Linked DNA regions of Homo sapiens: region 1 is linked to region 2. Evidence: promoter capture Hi-C in 16 types of primary human blood cells and fetal thymus (Javierre and others, 2016). All regions are on one chromosome and are shown on one strand. Each heading gives the region's core, a stretch centred on a gene start or on the middle of the fragment in contact. The rest is flanking DNA. Distances are from core to core; before and after follow the strand shown.

What was found. The method cuts DNA at HindIII sites, captures the fragments that hold promoters and counts their contacts. A CHiCAGO score of 5 or more calls a contact.
Region 1: the fragment with the promoter of WDFY4 here is called in contact with the fragment with the promoter of TMEM273 in region 2 in 1 of 17 cell types (neutrophils); the score reaches 6.9 in neutrophils.

The regions. Positions count from the first base shown.
Region 1 is chr10:48,683,017-48,688,246 of GRCh38, forward strand. It overlaps WDFY4 (WDFY family member 4), which reads left to right and starts at 1,857. Exons shown (of 62, transcript NM_001394531.1): 1 at 1,857-1,985. RefSeq lists enhancers at 779-858, 1,789-2,088, 2,107-2,647 and a silencer at 1,079-1,128. The HindIII fragment of the contact is 16,271 bases long and covers 1-5,230 here.
Region 2 is chr10:49,184,974-49,190,432 of GRCh38, forward strand. It overlaps TMEM273 (transmembrane protein 273), which reads right to left and starts at 3,418. Exons shown (of 7, transcript NM_001288740.3): 1 at 3,321-3,418. The coding sequence starts at 3,363. RefSeq lists an enhancer at 5,247-5,406. The HindIII fragment of the contact is 10,255 bases long and covers 3,019-5,459 here.

The DNA.
Region 1 (5,230 bases), core at 607-3,106, 500 kb before region 2:
GCACAGCCCTTTTCAGTATTTAAAAACTCTCTTGGCCGGGTGCGCTGGCTTACGCCTGTAATCCCAGCACTCTGGGAGGCCGAGATGGGCGGATCACGAGGTCGGGAGATCGAGACCATCCTGTCTAACACGGTGAAACCCCGTCTCTACTAAAAATACAAAAAATTAGCCAGGCGAGGTGGTGGGCGCCTGTAGTCCCAGCTACTCAGGAGGCTGAGGCAGGAGAATGGCGTGAACCCCGGGGGGCGGAGCCTGCAGTGAGCCGAGATCGCGTCACTGCACTCCAGCCTGGGCGACAGCGAGACTCCGTCTCAAAAAAAAAAAACCTCTCTTGCAAATATTATTTGATTTGTTCCTTCTAACAAGGCATTCATTCATTCTGCAAATAAGATGTCAATTATCTCAGTTAAGATAGTGAGAATTTCAACCTTGAGTTTCTAGCTCTGAATTTAGTGCTCTTTACCTGCCTGCTGCTGGCTACCCGGCAAGGTGCTGGGGTGGGTAGAAGGTAGGAGACCTGGGTGCAGGTGGGCCCTCCAGCAGACTTTGCGAGATCCCACTATGACAGACTCTCCGCGCTTCCTCTGGGCATTCACAGGCATGGGGTCCTGGCCTGTCCCATGCTGGCCACCCTTCCTGCCTCTGTGGAAGTTCCTCTGTCTAATCCGCTCTTACCATAGGCCTCTGATTTCAGGCAATATCTTCTTGTAGATTTTATTTATGATTTCATTGGTGACAATGACGAGGGGTTTTCATCATATACAACAAACACTTCACTGCAAATTCTCTAAGGTTTTCTCTTTCCCTTGGCTGGCACTGCATGTATCCTTTCAATTTCTCTTTTCTTTTCTTTTTTTTCTTTTTTTTTTTTTTGAGACGGAGCTTCGCTCTTGCTGTCCAGACTGGAGTGCAGCTGGATAGATCTCCTATTTTGGCTGCTGTCTACTGACAAGTTTGCACTGGTGGAGGTTGAGGTTTTGTGACAAATGTTATTTTCCTCTTTAAACCAATCTTGGAGCTTTACTCCATGTCATAACAAGTGATGTTGTTGCTGCCTCTCAGTCAGTCATGCATGGTCCACTGGTTTTGTGAGCTAGAGACAAGCGATGAGCTGCACTGAGGATCAAGGATCAGGCATTAGCGCTAACAAGTGCCCTTGCTCTTTGGCAAAATTCTCCTTTTACAGAGCACAAGCAGGATTGTGTGTGAATGGACATGCTTGTTTGTACTGTGGAGATGACGTTATGGATAGGTGACATGGATAATTCAGCCTAGTTTATATACTCAGAGGAATGAGAATTTGGAGTCTGAGTTTCAGAGACTTCCATTCTATGGTTTTAGATGTCCTCTCATCCTTGCCTCAGTGTTGGCCGCAGGAGGACTCCCCTCATTGGTGGTTCAAGTTCTATCTGAGGATGGGGGAGGAAGAAATCCAAGTGGGCAACTCTGAGCTTGGTGGGGTGAGGGCTGCCCAACCCATGCCATGTCCAGGGGTGCACTTAAACACACCTCTGATTAGATTCACCTAACACCATCATTGTTCTCATTTTGCCAGAGGCCCAGAGAGGAGAGGTGTGCACCAGTGGTCACACGGCTAGTGAAGAGGGGACACAGAATCCAGACCTACTCTTCTAGGGCTGGGCTGTACTTTCCATTTTGTCCTTGGCCCCAACCAGCACCGCTTGACCACGGAGGCTGCACAGCCAGCCCCAAGGGGCCTTGCTGCAGAACCCAAGTCACCCGCCAGAACTCCAGCAGCTCCGTGGTCGGCTGGAGAGTGGGCAGAGTCAGGCATCTGCCGGCTCTCCACTTCTGCTTTCTCCAGGAAATGAGCAGAGACCCAGCTCCAGTGATTCAGAGTGAAACGGCGCTGAGGACTGACGATGTGGGGCCGGGTCCTCTTCCCCCGAGCCTGAGGGGCTGCAGCTGGGGATAGGGGGCCCATGCCTTCTGATGTCTACAGGCGCTGACGGCCACCCCTCCAGGTAGGCCACCTTGCTCTTGGCCCAGCCAGGCCAGCCTAGAGGTGGGCATATGGGCGCCGCCTGTCAGCGTGGGGCCTACTGGCTGCCTCCTGGGAGGCTGACTATGGGGCACATGTGACCCAGTGCCTGGTTTGGGTTTGTGAATGTGGGAGAGGAGGTGAGCTGGGGAGCAGGAAGTGTGTGTGGCGTGGGGGGCCCATGTGGTCAGGGCCACTCCAGGGCCTGGGTCTGCCTGAGTGTGTGTCACTGCTGAAGTTTGGGAGTCAGGCTGGGCTCCAGCAGCACTCCTCGACCTCTGACGGTAGGTCAAGTCCTTTCTCGGGGTCCTGCTATGAAGGGAACCCTGGGAAGGGCTGACACGGGCTTTCCTGGTTGTCGAGGGGGCGGAGAGAGCAGGCCGACAGGACAGTGAGGCTCGCCCTCCAAGCTCCCTCATAGGCCTCTGAGGAGTGCAGAGTTGGAGGGCCATTTCCAACGGGCCTCAGAGGGAGCTGGTCTATCCCGGCCCTGTCATTACTCCACTGGGTTCTGGTAAGTAGGTGCCTCCCTGGGCTCACTTCCCTCATCTGAATTATTACAGCAAACCATTGAAACGCCTGCATTTTCTGCCTAAGCAGGGCCACCTGCTCAGTAAGGACTGATTCTTCTTTTCCCCTGAAATGAAACTTCTAGAACACTAAACCGATCCTTTGTCCCAACTCATCTAAAGTGTGGGGGGGCTGGTTTGATAACTAAGGGCTCTATGCATTACCCTTTCCATGGAGCACACTAATTTTAATATGAGTTTATGTATAGTCATTCATTTAGTTATTTAACAAATAGGTATTGAGAAACCACGCCCTGCCAGGCTCTGGTCAAAGCGGACAGGGGTCTACGGTGCTCAGCAGGTGGGAGAATAGCAGGTAGGGTGGGGGTCTTGGGAGGGTGGGGATGGCTCTAGTCTTCTGAGAGGGGACCTGTGAGGGAGGCCGAGTCCTGTGGGTTTCTGAGAAGTGTTCTTGATAAGGGTCTGGAGGAGGAGACCTCGTGGAGGTTGGTGTGGCAGAGCCGGGTAAGGGGCATGCCTGGGGTTCTGGCCAGAGAGGTAGGGAACAGGGTCAGGTCAGGGAGGCCCTTCCTGTCTGTCCATCCTGAGCACATGGGCTATTCTTTCATGAACTTGGAAAGATTTTCTGTGTTGAAAGAAAAGAAAATTTCGGCCAGGCGCAGTGGTTCACGCCTGTAATCTCAGCACTTTGGGAGGCTGAGAGGGGCAGATCACCTGAGGTCAGGAGTTCAAGACCAGTCTGGACAACACGATGAAACTCCATCTCCAAAAAAAAAAAAAAAAAAGAAGGAAAGAAAAGAAAATTTAGAAAGACCATAATAAGATAGAAGTAATAAAAACAGCATAAACCCTGTGTGCTGACACCTTAGATTTTTTTAAAGATCAGCATCATCTCTGAGGTCCTCTTCATGCCCATCTTTCACCTTCCCTCTTCAGAAGCAGCAACAGTCCAGAATTTTGGGTTTATTGTTCCCTTGCTTCTTTTTCTAATTTTACATCCCATATTTAAATCGCTATATATGTATGATTGCAAGTTGTTGAACTCTGTAAACATGGAATTAAATATTCTTTTAAAATTTGCCTAATTGGTTCAAAAGTTTGTTTCTGAAATTTCTTCATATTGTTGCATGTACCTGTAGATAATTAAAGTTTTCTGCAGTACAGTATTCTATTAGATGAGTGTACCTCAATATATTTATCTGAGATGCTGTTGATGGCATTTTAGGTATTTCAAGAGTTTATTTTTTTTTCTATTATAAGCAGTGCCGCTAGAACTATTTTTGTACATGCATCTTGGGGCATGTGTGCAAGAATTTATCTTGGGTATATACTCTAGAAATAGAATTGGTGGGTCATAGGTTGTACATATCGTCAGCCTTACTGGATGTCACCACGTTGTTTTCCAAAGTTTTTGCCTCATTTTACCCACCCCTCAGCAATGCACCAAAGTTTCTGTTGCTCCACTTCTTCATCAGCATTTGATATTGTCTGGTACTGTATTTCTGCCAATCTGGTAGAAATGAAAAGCTATCTTAGCATGTTTTTAATTTGCATTGACCAAATTACTAAGGTTGGACATCTTTTTCATATGTTTATTGGCCATTTGGGGTCCCTTTTCCTGTTCACATTTTTTGGCCATTTCTCATCGGGTTACCTGTCTTTTATCCTATTGATTTGCCATAATTCAATACATATTCTGGGTACTACTTTTTGTCATTTATATATATAACAAATATTTTTCATTTGTTGGTGCCTTGTCTCCTTATATTCCTGTGGTTTTTATTAATGACTGAATTTCTTAGTTTCAAATAAGTTTATCCACCTGTCGCTTTATGATTTATACTTGTTATGTGTTATCTAAGAAATTCTCCACTATAAGGTTGTAAAATTATTCTCATATTATTTTCAAAAAATGTTATAATATTACTTTTTACACTGAAGTCTCTAGTCTGCCTGGAAATGGCTTTTGTGTATGGCGTGAGGTGGGAAGAAACTTTATTTTATTCTGCTTTTCCCATATGGATAACCAAGAGTCTTGGCACCATTTATTTAATAGGCCATTCTTTTTTTTTTTTTTTTTTTTTGAGATGGAGTCTTGCTCTGTCACCCAGGCTGGAGTGCAATGGCATGATCTTGGCTCACTGCAACCTCCACCTCCCAGGTTCAAGCAATTATCCTGCCTCAGCCTCCCTAGTAGCTGAGATTACAGGTACATGCCACCACACCTGGCTAATTTTTTTTTTTTTTTTTTGAGACAGATTCTTGTTCTGTCACCCAGGCTGGAGTGCGGTGGTGCGATCTCAGCTCACTGCAACCTCCACCTCCCAGGTTCAAGCGATTCCTCTGCCTCAGCCTCTCCAGTAGCTGGGACTACTGGCGTGCGCCACCACATCTGTCTAATTTTTGGGTTTTTTAGTAGGGATGGGGTTTCACTGTGTTGGTCAGGCTGGTCTTGAACTCCTGACCTCAGGTGATCCACCCACCTCGGCCTCCCAAAGTGCTGGGATTACAGGCATGAGCCACCACACCCGGCCTAATAGGCCATTCTTTAGTCACTGATCCATGATAGCTCTGTTGTGAGTTGAGTTGTCATGTGCATGGGGGTCTTTCCTGGTTCTCTATTCTGTCAATTTGTCTAACCCTTTGACAATGCTAGACAACATTGTTAACCACAGGTTTATAATAAATTTCGGTATCT
Region 2 (5,459 bases), core at 2,168-4,667:
CAGTATGCTATGGCGGATTCCTGCAGTTTTTAACAGCTGCAAAGTAACCCAGGAAGGAAGCACAGCCAACCCTGGGGTGCCTCTCCCTCTGGGGAGGGAGGAAAACAAGAGGAGGAAGAGAGCCAAACTCCACCTCTTATGTTCTGTTTCTCTGATGGATACATTGATTTAGCTACCTACCTTTAAATATATATCTAGAAAAAAATTTAACATTTGGTAATTCAGAGTGTTGGCTCCATAAATGTCTGTTCCATTAATCTCAGTGTTTGAAAATATTTAAAGAATATTCAAATACTGTTTCTTTAAAAACTTTCTACCTACTCTGTGTGTGGGAAAGACTGGCCTGGCTTCTCATCCCAGGGTCCCCCGGTCATACTTGGGATCCTGGATGCCACAGAGGGACTGGACAGAGAGTGCCCCCATAGCCCCCAAGTCCCCTGAGGTACAGTTCTCATACACCCTGGGTGACTGGCCTGGTCACCCACCCTCACAGACCCCCATCTGCCAGTAGATTGCACTAAACAGTGCTCTAGGCCCCTTTCTCCAGTCAATAAAGGGGAAGCCCAACGTTTCCTTCATTTGCTTTCAACAGGCTGTCATATTCGCTTTTTGTTCACAAACATTTACTTACTGGAATTAACAACATATACAATCATTATGAAAAATGCCAATACAGAGAAATTAAGATGCTGTATAATTCTTTTTCCTAAGAAGATAAAGGATAGCCGGGCACGGTGGCTCACGCCTGTAATCCCAGCACTTTTGGAGGCCGAGGTGGGCGGAACACCTGAGGTCAGGAGTTCAAGACCAGCTTGGCCAACATGGAGAAGCCGCATCTCTACTAAAAATACAAAATTAGCCAGGTGCGGGGGCATGTGCCTGTAATCCCAGCTACTCGGGAGGCTGAGGCAGGTGAATTGCTTGAACCCAGGAGGTGGAGGTTGCGGTGAGCCGAGATCGCGCCATTGCACTCCAGCCTGGGCAACAAGAGCAAAATTCCATCTCAAGAAGAAGAAGGAGGAGGAGGAAGAGGAGGAGGAGGAGGAAGAAGAAGAAGAAGAAAAAGAAGAAGAAGAAGAGGAAGAAGAAGAAGAGGAAGAAGAAGAAGAAGAAGAAGAAGAAGAAGAAGAAGAAGAGGAAGAAGAAGAAAAAGAGGAAGAAGAAGGAGACTAAACACATGCAAAATATTACTACGGAACTCTAACCTGTAACTATCACTTCATCACTTCTGTTTCATCCGTGTCAGCTCATAGAAAGGCATGTCTTTCAACTAAATATATTGGATATTGTTGGAAATACTAAAGCATAATTAACTTAGTCAAATTCCTACTGATAGTCTCTTGTTTCTGGTTCCCACCGTGGTTTCGGCAGTGTTGAATAATACCCTGTGAAATATTTTGGGAGGGTTTTACCATATTATTTCATCAGGTTATATTCCTGGAGGTGGAATTTCTGGGTGAAGGGTTATGAACATCTTACATTTCGCTTACATTGACACCCAGATTTTGCCAAATTGCCCTCTGGAGAGAGTGAATAAATGAGTCCCCTCATATCCAATAGTGAGTGCTCACCACTTATCACATCCCATGCTAAGTGCTTTAAATGTGGTAACAGATTTCATTTTCCCAATAGTCCTGTGAGGTGTCCCCAACTTACAGATGAGAAAACTGGGCACAGAGAGGATTAATTCTTTGTCCAAGTTTTCCAGGCTGGTAAACAACAGAACAGGGATGAACATTTAAGGAGTCTCGTACTGGATACCCACTCCTAACCACTGTGTACCTCTATCAATAGTATATGAAAGCAGAAACGAGCTGTGATGCCTTGGCCCAGTGATTAAAACCTTATCTATAACATGCAGGTAATTGTGGCACCTATTGCACAGAGTTGCTGTGGGAACCAAATGAGCTCATGTAACATCTTCAGCAGAGCACCCAGCACATCGACACACTAAAAAATGCGAGGAGGTGTTAGATCTTTTATTATTTGTGAGACTGGACATTTTAAAGTTTTATTGTCTGTGATTCTTCAATGAATTGCCTGTTTATATAATTTGCACATTTTTCATTGGATTTCTTAAATTTAACTTCCTTTTTTTGTACCAGGACAGACTAGTTTGTTTATCTAGGTAAGTCAAAAGCAGAAATAAGGGTTACAACTTCTCTTACCTTCCACCACGTCTCTGGGCAGGCACACTGCATCTAACCACCGTGCACACCCTTAATCGCTGCTTGCTGGTGCCTGACATCCCTTCACAGTCACTGCCAACGGCCCGTTTCCATGTGTAAACTGATGGATGATGTGGCTGGCTGTCTGTCTGACATGCTGACTCCCAAGGCCAAAGTCTTTGCTCTCCCCTGCTTAGTGCAGACTTTAGATGGAAACCTGCCCACAGCACTAACTTTGCCCGCATTCAGGATACAACCTATTGGTCTGGAGACACAAGATTTAATCTGGAGACAGACTGCTTCCCATTGAGTCTCGGCCCAGTGCAAGTTCTGGGAAGGAACGTCTTTGTATATATGAGGGACGTATGCTGCCTTTTTAGGAAACAACAGTTGATATCAGAGGGGACTTCGTAAAGGCATGTGTCTCTCTCCATCTCTGTCTCCATCTATGCATATTTCTAACCATCTCTCTATGTCTCTGTCTGTCTCTCTCTCTCTCTCTTTGAGTTTCTTCCTCTCTGTCTACTTCTCTGACTTTATATTTCTCTCCTCCATTTGGCCCTACTTTGTTTTAGTCTTTGCCTCTCTCCTTTCTTCCTTCTTTCAAGGAATGCATTAAAGATAATTTTTAAAAACAAAGATACCTCTGAGTAGCAAAGAGTCTGCTTCACTGCATGAGAATTCTGATTCAACATTAAATGTATACCAGTATCTACATGCCTACATGTTCTCATTCTATGTCAGTATTTTGATTTGACTTAATTAAATTTAACTTAACTCTCTTGAAATCCCAAAAAGTAAACATGATTATCTCCCATCTCATTGGTTCAGAAAGTTAGGGAGTTTCAGAAGCTTATTCTAGTTTATCAGCAATGGAGCCACAGTTTACACCCAGATGTTTCTAGATCCCAAGCCCGAAGCTCCTTCTGCCATGACCCTTCCTATTCTCCTTTAGCCCAGAAGCATTTGTAAGTTGCAGCTGGAATGAGACAAACAAGATCATTGCTCACTACCAGATCAAAGTGAGAAACATCATCTGTGTAAAGGGACAGAGTTATGTTTTAGGGATCAAGCCCCAGTGGGCTAAGGCTCCCCCAGTTTCCTGCCCACTGAGGCTCCCCCGGGCCAGAGACCCCCGCAGTCCCCACTTACCCAGGAGGAAGAGGATCCTCAGCATGCTGACCCCCAAGTTCATGCTGGCGCTCTGCTCTTGGCTCCTGGCTCCTGGCTGCTGGCAGCGCAGGCACAATGAGCCATGTGACCCAAGGCTCTGGGGACAGGACAAGACCCACGTGACTGATGGGGAAGGAAACCACTGTCACAGCCAGGAGGCTGTTCAGTTCCTCTCAGCCTCTCTGAAGACAGGGCTGAAGGAAGCCCCTGTCATTCTGGACTCCACCAGAAGCTGGCTGTGATTAGACCCATTGTACATGCTGGGGTATTATACCCAGTGTTCTCTCCTATAATCTTCCCCACAGAGTGTGGGAACAAAGCTCGGTAAGGTGCGGTTTCTTGCCTAATGACCCATGCTAGTAAGTCTCAGAGAGGAATGTGGGCAAAGCCGGTCTGCCCTGCAGTCCAGCCCTTGCAGTAGCCTCTGCCTTGGAGCAGAAATAGGAAATGCCCCTCCAGCCAATAGTCCAGCTCGGTCACTGTTTTTGTGCCATGGGAGCCTCTGAGTCTAGGAATGCCTATCACTCTCTTCTCAGAATAAGATTTTTAAATCCCCAAACTAAAATAGATAAGGATCATAGTAGAAATCAGTAGTATTAACACACAGTTATCAAAATATTTTGTTAAACTTGTGAAGTAGAAATATACATGCTTATTTATCCACACAGTAAATAGCAAGATCTGGCAGCAGATGAAACAGCTACCACCATCTCGACATGGTGATAAATGGAATCGATATTGAGAGATACCTGTAACAGCTGGAATGTGGATGGAAAGACCTGTGATTCCTACCAGAAATAAAGTTACTGGGTGGTAATGTTTCTGTGGTTCGTTTGCCACACTACTATTAGAAGAAGATGCTAAGTGTTCCTTAGAGGTTAGAGAACAGAGATGTAATTTTTTTCCCATCCAAGTTTACAGGCCCCATGTCCAGGTCCTTAGCCTGGAGGAACTTTGGTAGTCACACAGGCTCAGCCAGCAGGCTGAAGGCCTTATGCTCCTGTACTCCTTTATACCTGCACGTTGTCACAATGCTTAGATGTTCAGCCAAAAACCCAAATGTGCAGGAAATGTCACTTTTTAAAATATAAATCAACTTAATGACAAGTCTTGAGTCCCCCACCCAACTGAGCTGGCAGAAATCGAGCTCTTTTCATTCTTGGGCTCCCTCAGTCAAATCCCTAACGGTAGCAGCCAACACCGTGAGCACTTGCTACTGAGCCCAATGCCATCTTAGCATGCAACCTGTCCAAGTCCACGCAGCAGTAAATGTGAGAGCTGGACTCGAAACCCAGGCCTTTGGCTGGCAGCCTATGCCCCTCAGGCTGCATGTGCCCTCTGTGTACAGGTACCATCCCCTGCCAAGGTCCAGCCAGAGGCAGTCCGATTGCCCTGGTGCCACAGATGCCCCCTGGGTTCTTCTGCATGGCTGCTGTGGCTCCTTCTGAGTTTCACATAAATAATGGACATGAGAGGAGAAGGCTGGTCATGAGAGAAGCAATTGGCTTCATCTGGGTGCCTTCAAGTTCCATCTGTCCACACTTTATTCATTTGATGAAATTAAGATCAGTTTCTACCTGCACCAAGAAACATACTCTCTTATTTCTCCTGGAATATGTGGAGTTTTCTTAATTTTGCCCCAGTTCATGGGAACATGTGTAAGAAAAATATTTCACTTTCCTCTAAGTGTATTGAAAGAAAATGCCAGTGCAGACCTGACAATCTGTAGACAGTGGCTGGGGACGGTGGAGCTACATTCAGGCCAGGCCCAGGGCTTCCAGCCACACCAGGCAGTTCTGTTTTTATATGAAATCAATAAGTTTCAAATGTCGGCAACTGATTTCAAAATACTTTCGCATGGGATGAGTCAACCTAAACACCAGCATGAACTTCTGCTCCCAAACACCTCTCCAAACATCCTTGGGAGCTCGACCTGTCCTACATACTCCCAGGAGGGGAAGCATCTGCAGCTACTTCTGCTTTCACTCTGCCGTAGCCTCCGAGTCTGGAAAATGCAGTCTGCTCCCTGCTTAGACAGGCAGAGGCTCAAAACGCCCCGTAAACTAGAATCTCACGAGATGCCCTGGCACCCAGCCACGGCACCTTGGCAAGATGGTG